Regions from separate parts of the Homo sapiens genome. Here regions 1 and 2 are each linked to region 3. The links are contacts of gene promoters, found by promoter capture Hi-C in blood cells and fetal thymus (Javierre and others, 2016). All regions are on one chromosome and are shown on one strand. Each heading gives the region's core, a stretch centred on a gene start or on the middle of the fragment in contact. The rest is flanking DNA. Distances are from core to core; before and after follow the strand shown.

Evidence for each region. The method cuts DNA at HindIII sites, captures the fragments that hold promoters and counts their contacts. A CHiCAGO score of 5 or more calls a contact.
Region 1: a contact is called between a fragment that was not itself captured here and the fragment with the promoter of NLRP6 in region 3, in 3 of 17 cell types (total CD8 T cells, erythroblasts and endothelial precursors). The highest score is 5.6, in total CD8 T cells.
Region 2: a fragment that was not itself captured here is called in contact with the fragment with the promoter of NLRP6 in region 3 in 8 of 17 cell types (total CD8 T cells, total CD4 T cells, naive CD4 T cells and 5 more); the score reaches 11.8 in total CD8 T cells.

Annotation. Positions count from the first base shown.
Region 1 is chr11:514,995-518,845 of GRCh38, reverse strand. It overlaps a transcript of LRRC56 not described here. Among named protein-coding and RNA genes, the nearest start is that of RNH1, 9.7 kb to the right of the region's middle. The HindIII fragment of the contact is 932 bases long and covers 2,018-2,949 here.
Region 2 is chr11:449,318-453,007 of GRCh38, reverse strand. PTDSS2 (phosphatidylserine synthase 2) reads right to left here and starts at 2,729. Exons shown (of 12, transcript NM_030783.3): 1 at 2,371-2,729. The coding sequence starts at 2,552. RefSeq lists silencers at 2,045-2,134, 2,145-2,204, 2,395-2,634 and enhancers at 2,665-2,944, 2,543-3,229. The HindIII fragment of the contact is 1,272 bases long and covers 714-1,985 here.
Region 3 is chr11:276,032-279,811 of GRCh38, reverse strand. NLRP6 (NLR family pyrin domain containing 6) reads right to left here and starts at 1,405. Exons shown (of 8, transcript NM_001276700.2): 1 at 1,214-1,405; 2 at 205-485. The coding sequence starts at 1,242. RefSeq lists an enhancer at 1-105. The HindIII fragment of the contact is 27,921 bases long and covers 1-3,780 here.

The DNA of each region.
Region 1 (3,851 bases), core at 1,234-3,733, 240 kb before region 3:
GTTCGGGGCGGCTCCTTCCTCGCGCGCCGCCGGCCACATCCAGGAGGGGGCGCCGCGAGTCCTCTCCGGCGGCCCCGTCGTGGGCAGCCCGGGGCCGGCTCCTGGGCGTCCGGTTCCGCGCTGGCTGCGTTTCCTGCCCCACCTGCTGGTGTCGGCTCGTGCGTGCCTCCTCCCCTGGGTTATGGGAATGGAATACGGTCTCCAAGTAATAAAGTGAACAGGCGGCCGGGCAGGGTGACTCACGTCTGTAATCCCAGCACTTTGGGAGGCGGAGGCGGCCGGATCACGAAGTCAGGAGTTGGAGACCAGCCTGGCCAAATGAAACCCCATCTCTACCAACAATACAAAAAAAATTTAAAAAGCTGACCTGGCGCGGTGGCTCACGCCTGTAATCCCAAGCACTTTGCGAGGCCGAGGCGGGTGGATCACGAGGTCAGGAGATCGAGACCATCCTGGCTAACACCATGAAACCCCGTCTCTACCAGAAATACAAAAAATTAGCTGGGCGTGGTGGCGGGCACCTGTAGTCCCAGCTACTCCTAAGGCTGAGGCAGGAGAATGGCGTGAACCCGGGAGGCGGAGCTTGCAGTGAGCTGAGATGGGCCACTGCACTCCAGCCTAGGCGACAGAGCGAGACTCCATCTCAAAAAAAAAAAAATTTTATTATTATTATTTTTTATTTATTGATCATTCTTGGGTGTTTCTCAGAGAGGGGGATGTGGCAGGGTCATAGGATAATAGTGGAGAGAAGGTCAGCAGATAAACACGTGAACAAAGGTCTCTGGTTTTCCTAGGCAGAGGTCCCTGCGGCCTTCCGCAGTGTTTGTGTCCCTGGGTAGTTGAGATTAGGGAATGGTGATGACTCTTAACGAGCATGCTGCCTCCAAGCATCTGTTTAACAAAGCACATCTGGCACCGCCCTTAATCCATTTAACCCTGAGTTGACACAGCACGTTTCAGAGAGCACGGGGTTGGGGGTAAGGTTATAGATTAACAGCATCCCAAGACAGAAGAATTTTTCTTAGTACAGAACAAAACGGAGTCTCCTATGTCTACTTCTTTCTACACAGACACAGTAACAATCTGACCTCTCTTTCTTTTCCCCACATTTCCCCCTTTTCTTTTTGACAAAACTGCCACTGTCATCATGGCCCGTTCTCGATGGTCGCTGTCTCTTTGGAGCTGTTGGGTACACTTCCCAGACGGGGCGGCCTGGCAGAGGCACTCCTCACCTCCCAGACGGGGTGGCCGGGCAGAGGTGCTCCTCACCCCCCAGATGGGACGGCCGGGCAGAGGCGCCCACTTCCCAGACGGGGCAGTCGGGCAGAGGCGCTCCCCACCTTCCAGATAAGGCGGTGGCTGGGCAGAGGTGCCCCTCACTTCCCAGGTGGGGCGGTCGGGCAGAGGCACCCCTCAACTCCCAGACGGGGCAGCCAGGCAGAGGCGCCCCCCACCTCCCAGACGGGGCAGCTGGGCAGAGGCGCCCACTTCCCAGACCGGGCGGCCGGGCAGAGGCGCTCCTCACCTCCCAGACGATGGGCGGCCGGGCAGAGATGCTCCTCACCTCCCAGACGGGGTGGCGGCCGGGCAGAGGCTGTAATCTTAGCACTTTGGGAGGCCAAGGCAGGCAGCTGGAAGGTAGAGGTTGTGGCGAGCTGAGATCACGCCACTGCGCTCCAGCCTTGGCAACACTGAGCATTGAGTGAGCAAGACTCCGTCTGCAATCCCAGCACCCCGGGAGGCCGAGGCGGGCAGACCATTGGAGGTCAGGAGCCGGAGACCAGCCCGGTCAACAGGGCAAAACCCCGTCTCCTCCAAAAATACAAAAACCAGTCAGGCGTGGCGGTGCATGCCTGCAATCCCAGGCACTTGGCAGGCCGAGGCAGGAGAACCATGGGAGCCCGGGGCAGGGAGGCTGCAGCAAGCCGAGACCACAGCAGTACAGTCCAGCCTCGGCAACAGAGGGAGACCGAAGGGAGAGGGAGAGGGAGAGGGAGAAAAAAATAATTAAAAAGCTTTATAAGCCTGCTGGATTCTGTCAAATGCCTTTTCTAAGTCTACTGAAATGATGATGTATTTTTGTCTTATTTTATTTATTTAGAGACCAGGTCTCACTATGTTGCTCAGAATCCTCCTGCTTCAGCCTCCCAAAGTGCTGGGATCACAGATGTGAGCCACCACGTCCGGCCGTCTTTTTGTCTTTTAATCTGCTTATATGGTGAATTCCATTGGCTCATATTTCATGTTGAACCAGCCTTGCATTCCTGTGATAAATTTCACTGCGTCATGGTGTGCACTTATATTTGTATTATACATATATGTGTGCTCATGGGCCTGTGTTTCAGTGTGTGGCAATGCTGTGGGCCTACAATCATCAAAACAGCTCTGGAAAACAATGGTCAAGTGAGAGGGCATTCTATGCCTGGCTTCAAGATTTGGGTTTTTTTTTTTTTGAGATGGAGGCTCGCTCTGTCACTCAGGCTGGAGTGCAGTGGTACGATCTCAGCTCACTGCAGCCTCCGCCTCTGGGGCTCAAGTGATTCTTGTACCTCAGCCTCCCGAGTAGCTGGGATTACAGGCGTGTACCACCATGCCTGGCTAGTTTTTGTATTTTTGGTAGAGACGGGTTTCGCCATGTTGGCCAGGCTGGTCTTGAACTCCTGGCCTCAAGTGATCCACCCACCTCGGCCTCCCAAAGTGCTAGGATTACAGGCGTGAACCTTTGCACCTGGCCCAAGATGTGTTATAAAGGTTCAGAAATCCAGACAGTGTGGCATTGGTAACAGGATAGACAAATAGATCAGTGGAACAGAATAGAGGATCGAGAGTAGACCCTCACATACATGCTCAACTGATTTTGAAATAAGTGTAAGCAAATTCAGCAGAGAAAGGAGAATCTTAGCAACAAATGGTACTAGAATGACGGGGCTACACATATGAATGGAAGCTTCAATCTATACATGACAGTACATATATAAATCCATTCAAAATTTACTATTAATTTTTTTGAGATGGAGTCTCACTCTCTCGCCCAGGTTGGAGGGCAGTGGCACAATCTTGACTCACTGCAACCTCTGTCTCCCAGGTTCAAGTGATTCTCCTGCCTCAGCCTCTGGAGTAGCTGGGATTACAGGTGCCCGCCACCACACCTGGCTACTTTTTGTATTTTTAGTAGAGACGGGGTTTCACCATGTTGGCCAGGCTTGTGTCAAACTCCTGACCTCTGGTGATCCACCCGCCTTGGCCTCTCAAAGTGCCAGGATTACAGGTGTGAGCACTGTGCCTGGCCTCAGAACTTATTATAAGCCAAAATGTAAGGCCTACAACTGTAAAATGTGCGTTAAGAATGAAAAGGAGGATGTCAGTGTGACTTGGGTTAGAGAAATGATTCTTAAACACTAAAAGCATGACACATAAAGGAAAACCTGATCCACTGGACATCATGAGAATGAAGGGTGTGTGCATTTTGAAAGGCCCTGAGAAGACAAGCCCAGGCTGGCAGAGGCATTAGCAAATATCCCGTCTGAGGAAGGACTCATCTGCAGCATCTATGACAAGCTCCCAGGAGTCATGGGGTGCTGTGCTCTCGGCAGATATGGGAGAGCCTCCCATCCCATCATTCGTGTCTCCGGAGCAGCACTGCTCAAAGTCCCCTACCAATGCCCTCCTCAGCCGACAGACCTGACCCTCCCCACATGTGCACCCACAGGCCAGGCCTTGTGGGTCTTCTTGGGACATGACCCCAACTTCAGGAGGAGGAAAGTAAGAAGAGGAAAATCAATGAAAAGAAAAAAGAATTTACTGGTGGCCCTTTCAAGTCTTTCTGTCAAACGGCCCAATTTCAGGTTCAG
Region 2 (3,690 bases), core at 100-2,599, 170 kb before region 3:
TGTAATCTCAGCAATCTGGGAGGCTGAGGCGGAAGGATCACTTGAGGCCAGGAGTTGAAGACCAGCCTGGGCAACACAGGGGGACCCTCTATTAAAAATAAATAAATAAATAAAAATGAATAAAAAATAAAAAGTAAAACTCTCTAAAACACAAAATTAGAGTTAAAAAAATGCCAGCACAGCAAGTCAGTGCAGGTGGACTCAGGAGGTCAGTGTGAGGCTCTGCAGGTAATGAATTCTCACCAGGCAGGCATTGAGTTACCTGCCACCCAGAAGCGTGAAGCTCCTTCCTCTGCACAGGGAAGGGAGGAGGCACAGCAAGAACCTGCCCCATGCGTCTCTACAGGGACAGGGTCGAGGGGAAAGCCAGAGCCAGAGCCACCCACCCAGAAGACCCAGGAAGGAGGTACCTGGACCAGCCAGCCCCGCTGCACCCGCTCCTGGAGAGCCCTCCTGACCCCCTTGGCCTCCTGACAGGCAAGCTCTGCTGCGCCCAGCCGTCTGTGTCCCAAACACCCCTTGTGGGCAGGGACCACTGGTCTGGGCTTCTAAAGAGACCGGCCCCCTCCTACCTTTGGGCTGCTGCTCCTGCTTCCCTGGTACTGGGTGGGCTGCGCAGGCTTGCATGTGCCCCCTGGCTCCTGCCACACTCAGCACCCAGCCAGCACATTTTGAGCCTTCTGAAGTTCCATGCCTGCACCAGAATCTAAGCTTCTTGTTTAGTTCTCTGCTATGTCCCGTAGAACGGTAACTGACAGGCAGTAGGGGTCCCCACAATGTGCTGAACGGCCAAATGAGAAACAAGAAGAGCCAGTCTGGTCTCCTCGCTCCGGGACCTCAGAGGAGCCCGTCTGTTCTCCTTGCTCCGGGATGTCAGAGGAGCCCGTCTGGTCTTCTTGCTCCGGGACCTCAGAAGAGCCAGTCTGGTCTCCTTGCTCCAGGACCTCAGAGACTCCGGTGGTCCCCAGCTGTGCTGCGGGAGGACAGCCTGAAGGGGTGTGGCAGGGCACCTGATGGAGAGGCCTGATGTCCACAGGGCCCGGAAGCCAGAGGGTCCACGTGGCAGGCACCCCATCTCCTCTCCCTCCCGAGGGCCCCGCAGCCACCCGGTACACTCATCTCCCCAAAGGAGAGCTCGGATGCCCTCCCTGCAACAGCAGCTGCCCACACCTCACGGAAGACCCTGCGTGGGGCCTCCTCCACCCTAACCTGCTTTCCCACCACTTGGACAGTCTCTCTCCAGAGCTTCGGCTGCGGTGACAGGCCAGGACCGGTTAAGTCCCTGTCTGTGGTGGCGCCTTCCCCTGACAAGTCCCTTACTCCTCCATCAGGCCCTCCTCGCCCCTCAGATTTGCTCTCCGACCATCCCACAGCATGGTTCTCTTGGAAGCGTCCATAAAGCCTTCCTTCCACTGCTGGCCGCAGGCGCCTGTCTCCCACACGTTTTCCTGGGGCTGACCCCACCTCTACTGCCCCTGTGCCCCCGGGCCTTCCACAGGATGGGAACTGGGCACCTTGCAGTCAAGAAGAGCCAAACCCTCCTCTCACGAAGCCTGCTTTCAGGTCGACGGCTTGATCCTTCTCACAGAGGAGCATCGGCAAAGGGCCAGCCCAGGGTCGCAGCTGTCGGGAGTAGGAGCGGCACCTGGAGCCTGTCTGGACACAGAGTGCCACACTCCAGCTGCTCCCGGGGGCCTCTTCCTTTTCCACCCCCATTAAAGGCAGAGTGGCGGACAGGGGGACCCCAAGGTGTAGCTAGGGCTGAGTTGTGCAGGGAGGAGGCGCTGGCCCCGCTAGGGGCAACTGAGGAGAGAAACAGAGCCTGGATTCGACGAACACCGACTACATTCCTGAAGCACGCACAACACTCTGCTAATCAACACGATCGCCACGTGGGGTCGGGCGCGACACACAAGATGATTTCGTGCAGCCGCAAGCACTGAGGAGCAACCACAGGCAGAATGACGGGGGACACAGGTGAAGCTTCGACAGCAGGACAGAGAAAGCGTTTCTGGGGTGACGCTGGAGGCGGGTGGCGGGGAAGGGGTCTGGATCGCAGAACCGCGCGGTCAGAGCCAAGGCGGGCAGGGGTGGGGAGGGCGGCGAGAGAGACGCAAAGCGGCCGCAGGGAGGGTCTGCCCAGGGTCTCCCCCACCTACAGCGCCGCCCTCCGCCCGACCCGGCGTCGGGAGCTCGGTCCGGCCGCTCCCCGGGACCCGGGGGGCGGTGCTGCCACACCCTCAAACCCCCGGCCACAGTCCTGGACTCCAAGACGGCGAGAGGGCGCTGCCGGGGACCCCCAGGCCAGCGGTGCCGGAACCCCCAGGTCGAGGGCACCCTCGCCGCCCCGCGGCCGCCCACTGCCCTCACCAGAAGAAGGTGTTGGTGCCGTCGTCGTAGACCTCGGACTCGGTGCTGCGGCGGCCCTCGCCCGGCCCGGTGGCTTGGCCGGCAGACGGCCCGTCAGGCGGCTCCTCCAGCGAGGCCCTGCCCGCGGGCACCGGGGACTCGGGCCGCGGACCTCCGGCGTCCCTGCGCTCGCCCCTCCGCATGGCGTTTCGGCCCGGAGCCACTCCGCCCGGCGCCTCGACCCCACGCACACCGGGTCACCGGCGAGAGGACGCGCCGCACACAGCGCGAGGAGCGCTGGGAAGGGGTCGCGGCGCTGGCCCGCGGGGTCTTAGGAGAGCAGCGCGGGGCCGGCCAGTAAAGGGTGTGCGGTGCATTGTGGGGCTTGTAGTCCGCGCGGGGCATGCTGGGCCTTGTGGTCCGACGTCGCGGGTTGGACGCAGTGCTTGCTGGGAAGGATGACGCCTGGTTGCTGGGAAACCGGAGCCGGACCGCCCTGCGGCTGAGGTCGCAGGAACCAAGCTGCGGATGGCGCGGGTCTCGCCAAGGCCTCCAGAGCTTGGAGGTAACCACAGACATCCCCGGCGGCCTGGCCCGAGTCCCTCCACCCCTTCGCCCCTTCCTCGCCGACGGATCCCGGAGCCCAGCCCCGTTCTCCTTTTGGGGCGCTTCCCGACCCTTCACCCCATGCGACCCGGGTCATTCCTTTTTGAGACGGAGTCTCGCACTGCCGCCCGAGCTGGAGTGCAATGGCGCGATCCCGGCTCACTGCAACCTCCGCCTCTCGGATTCAAACGATTCTTCTGTCTCAAGCTTCCCGAGTAGCTGGGATTACAGGCGGCCGCCATCACGCCCGGCTAATTTTTGTATTTTTAGTAGAGACGGGGTTTCACTATGTTGGCCAGGCCAATCTCGAACTCCTGACCTTGTGATCTGCCGCCTCGGCCTCCCAAAGTGCTGGGATTACAGGCGCGAGCCACCGCGCCCGGACCGGTCTGGGTCATTCTTTCGCAGGATCGCGTGAAATTGGGCGGGCGAAAATGGTGCGGACACGCTGATTTTAGTTGACCCAAATTGTTGACATGGTACCCTGCAAAAAAATTAGCTCCTGAGCCACTCTGAAAAGCAATGTGGCAGCTCCTCAAACCTGGAAACAAGTGTCCACGCCAAATTTACACACTAGCGCTCCTAGTTGCAGCATTTTGATAATAGCGGCATGTTATTAGCCATAGAGGAGCGAAGCATGCGCATGCTACAGCACAGCTGGACCTTGAAAACATTATGCTAGGCAGGCCGGGCGCGGCGGCGCACGCCTGTCATCCCAGCACTTTGGGAGGCCAA
Region 3 (3,780 bases), core at 156-2,655:
GTTCCGCCGAGGGCGGGAACAGGGGAAGGCGCCACGGGGGTCCGAGTCACCCTGAGGAGCACGCAGGGTCCTACCCCTGGGGCCCGCGAATTTGTGGATAAAACGCGCGGGGGCCGGGGACCGCGCCGGGGCTTCTCCGGGAAGCGGGAAGGAGGGCAGCCCAGCCTCTGCCCAGACAGGAGGGACCTCCCGCGCAGAACTCACGCTGCAGCCGCCGCTCCTGGAGCTGCGCCGCCACGTCGCGCGCGTCCGCCCTCTTGAGGGTCTTGCGGGCCACCTCCAGGGCAGGCTCCGGGCCGTAGAACTGGGCCAGCTGCTCCGCGAGGTCCACGGCGTCCGCGCGCTCCAGCCGCCCCCACGGGATGCTGCGTCCGTCCGGGCCCACGTCGCGCAGCTTGTGGCGGAAGCGCTTCAGCTGCTCTTGGCTCAGTTCCTCCAGCGCAGCCAGGAGCAGCTCGCGGGCCACCGCGAGGCGCGGCCCCGTGCTGGAGGCGGGCGGGCGCGGGTCATCGGGGAGCGGCCCTCGGGTGACCCCCGCCCGCCCCCGACTCTGGCGCCGGAGAACCCACCGCGGGCAGGGCCTCAGGGAGTCCCGGGCCAAGCATCGTCTGGATCCATGGGGTGGCGGGAGGGGGCAACGGGGAGTGACCCCAGACTTTTCCCTCCCCCGTCCCCGGACCCGGGTCGGGGCGTCTTGGTGTTCTTCGCCCTCTGAGGGTGAAGTGGGCACTGGCCGCCGCTGATCTGAGCTCTGGGGGGCACCTTCCTCCCCTGCACCTCCCTTTCTGCTTCTGTCCTTCCACACCCCAGGACAGGTCACATGCCCCGAGGGAGGTATTTCCAAGGAACCCTGAGCTCTCTTTCCTCGCTTTCCTTCTTTTCCCTCTCTTCCCGATCCCGGAGCAGAACTGGCCTCTTTGGCAGCAGACACTGCCAGGCCCAGGCTGTATTCCTGGGCCCCCACCCCTGCCACACTTTGGTGGGGCCCAGCTTGGGGCCTTGCACCAGGGCCTGAATCTGAGCCCCTGGTGGGGAACAGACTCCACAAATGCCCTCTGTGGGGAGGCAGTGCTTGGCTCCTGAGCCTGGGAGTGAGGGTGGGGGAAGGATGTGGACAAGGGTGGAGAGCCTGAGGAAGTCAGCGGGTGAGGTGGAGGCCCCAGAGGGCTGAGACCAGCCGGTTCCCAGTGACCACCCTGGGGCCAGCACTCACCTGGAGCAGGGGGCCTCTGGCTGGTCCATGGGGTCTCTTCCTCCCTGGGTCTAGCACTCCGGGGCAGAGGTGGGGATCAGAGAGGTGATTCCTTCACAGGCTGAGCTGGAGCCAAGTCTTAGAGGTTGTCCAGCCCGGTCCATTCCCCGGGTCCACACACCGCAGCTCAGCTGGCACGAGATGCTGTTGGGCACCGTGGCACACGCAGAGCATTGCCCTTTAAGGGCTCCGTTTGGTGACCTTTGATTTTCTTACTCCTTTATCCCATTAATGTTCCCCAAGAACCCCTGGGTGTGGCATCGGGGCATGGCTGTGAGCAGGCAGCTTCAGAGCAAGGTGGGTTGTGTGAAGGAGGTGGCTGGCTCAGAGCCAGGCCTTCAGCTGAGGCCTGGGGAGAGGTTAGACTCTGAAGGCAGGGGTGAGGAAAGACTTCCAGGTAGAGGGAACAGGGGGGACAGCCAGCAGCACGCACCATATATGGGAGGGAAGGCAGTCTCCAGGGAGACGCCGGGCAGGGGTCTGCACTGCAGCCTCCCCACCCGACCTGAACAGCTGGCGGGCAGAGGCTGGACGTCAGGGGTGTTCGAGACCCCTGGGACCAAATGTGAGAGTGTGTGGAACGGGGGGGTTAATATGTGGAAATGAGAGGTGCTGGGTAAAATAAGGCTGAGACCTACTGGGCTGCATTCCCAGGAGGGTAGACATTCTAAGTCACAGGATGAGACAGGAGGTTGACACAAGATACAGGTCATAAAGGCCTTGCTGATAATGGTGTAAAGAAGCTGGCCCAAAACCACCAGAACCAAGATGGCAATGAGAGTGACCTCTGGTCATCCTCACAGCTCATTACTCTAGTTACAGTACATTAGCACACTAAAAGACACTCCCACCAACACGATGACAGTTTATAAATGCCATGGCAAAGTCAGGAAGTTACCCTATATGGTCTAAAAGGGGAGGAACCCTCAGTTCTGAGAATTGCCCACCACTTTCCTGGAAAACTCATGAATAATCCACTCCTCGTTTAGCATATAATCAAGAAATAACCATAAAAATGGGCAACCAGCAGCCTTTGGGGCTGCTCTGCCTATAGAATAGCCATTCTTTTATTCCTTTACTTTCTCAATAAACTTGCTCTCACTTTACTCTTTTTTTTTTTTTTTTTTTTTTCATGGAGTCTCGTTCTGTCGCCAGGCGGAGTGCAGTGGCACGATCTCGGCTCACTTCAAACTCCGCCTCCTGGGTTCAAGCAATTCTCCTGCCTCAGCCTCCTGAGTAGCTGGAATTACAGGCATGCACCACCATGCCTGGCTAATTTTTGTATTTTTAGTAGAGACGGGGTTTCACCATGTTGGTCAGGCTGGCCTTGAACTCTTGACCTTGTGATCTGCCTGCCTTGGACCTCCCAAAGTGCTGGGATTACTGGTGTGAGCGACCATGCCTGGCACTTTACTCTTTATGGATTTGACTCAAATTCTTTCTTGCATGAGATCCAAGAACCATGATGTCTGGATCAAGACCTCTTTCTGATAACAGTTTGGCTGTGTGTCCCCACCCAAATCTCATGTTGAATTGTAATTCCCAATGTTGGGGGAGAGACCTGGTGGCAGGTGATTGGATCATGAAGGTGGATTTCGTCCTTGCTGTTCTTGTAATAGTGAGTAAGTTCTCATGAGATCTGGTTGTTTGAAAGTGTGTAGCATGTCCCACTTTGCTCTCTCTGTCCTTTTGGCCACATGAATATTTGCCTGCTTCCCCTTTGCTTTCTGCCATGATTGTAAGTTTCCTGAGGCCTCCCCAGAAGCAAAAGTCTGTACAGCCCACAGAACCAGGAGCTAGTTAAACCTCTTTTCTTTATAAATTACCCTGTCTCAGGTATGTCTTTACAGCAATGTGAGAATAGACTAAGACAAATTATAACAAGTAAAGAGATTGAATTACTAATTACAGGGAAAAAAAACTTTCCCACAAAGAAAAGCTCTCAAGGGAATGCTTCCCAACTCATTCTCTGAGGCCTGTGACACTGATACCAAAACCAGGCAAACTCATCAGAAGAAAACTGTAAACCAATATCCTTCATGAATACAGGCATGAAAAATCCTTAACAAACTACTTCAGAAACAGAATCTATTAGCATATAAAAACAATTACAAACCATGACTAAGTGTGTTTTCTCTAAGGAGTGCAAGGTTGGTTTAACATCCAAAAATCAATTAATGTAACATATCATAGTAATACTTAAGAGGACAAAAACTGCTTGATCATCTCAATAGAGACAGAAAGAATAGTCTACATTTTCCAACACCTCTTCATGGTTAAAAACACTAAGCAAACTGGGAAGAATGGAAGGAGCTTCCCAATCAGAAAATCCCCCAATATTTGGAATAAACAATACACTTGCAAATAACACATGGGTCAAAAAACAAGTCAGAGGAATTAAAAATACGTTTAACCAAACTGGGCATAGTCCTAGCTACAGGACAGGCTTAAGTGGGAGGATTGCTAGAGTTCAAGACCATCTTTGGCAGGGTAATAAGACTTCTGTCTTTTAAAAGATAAAAAAGGCC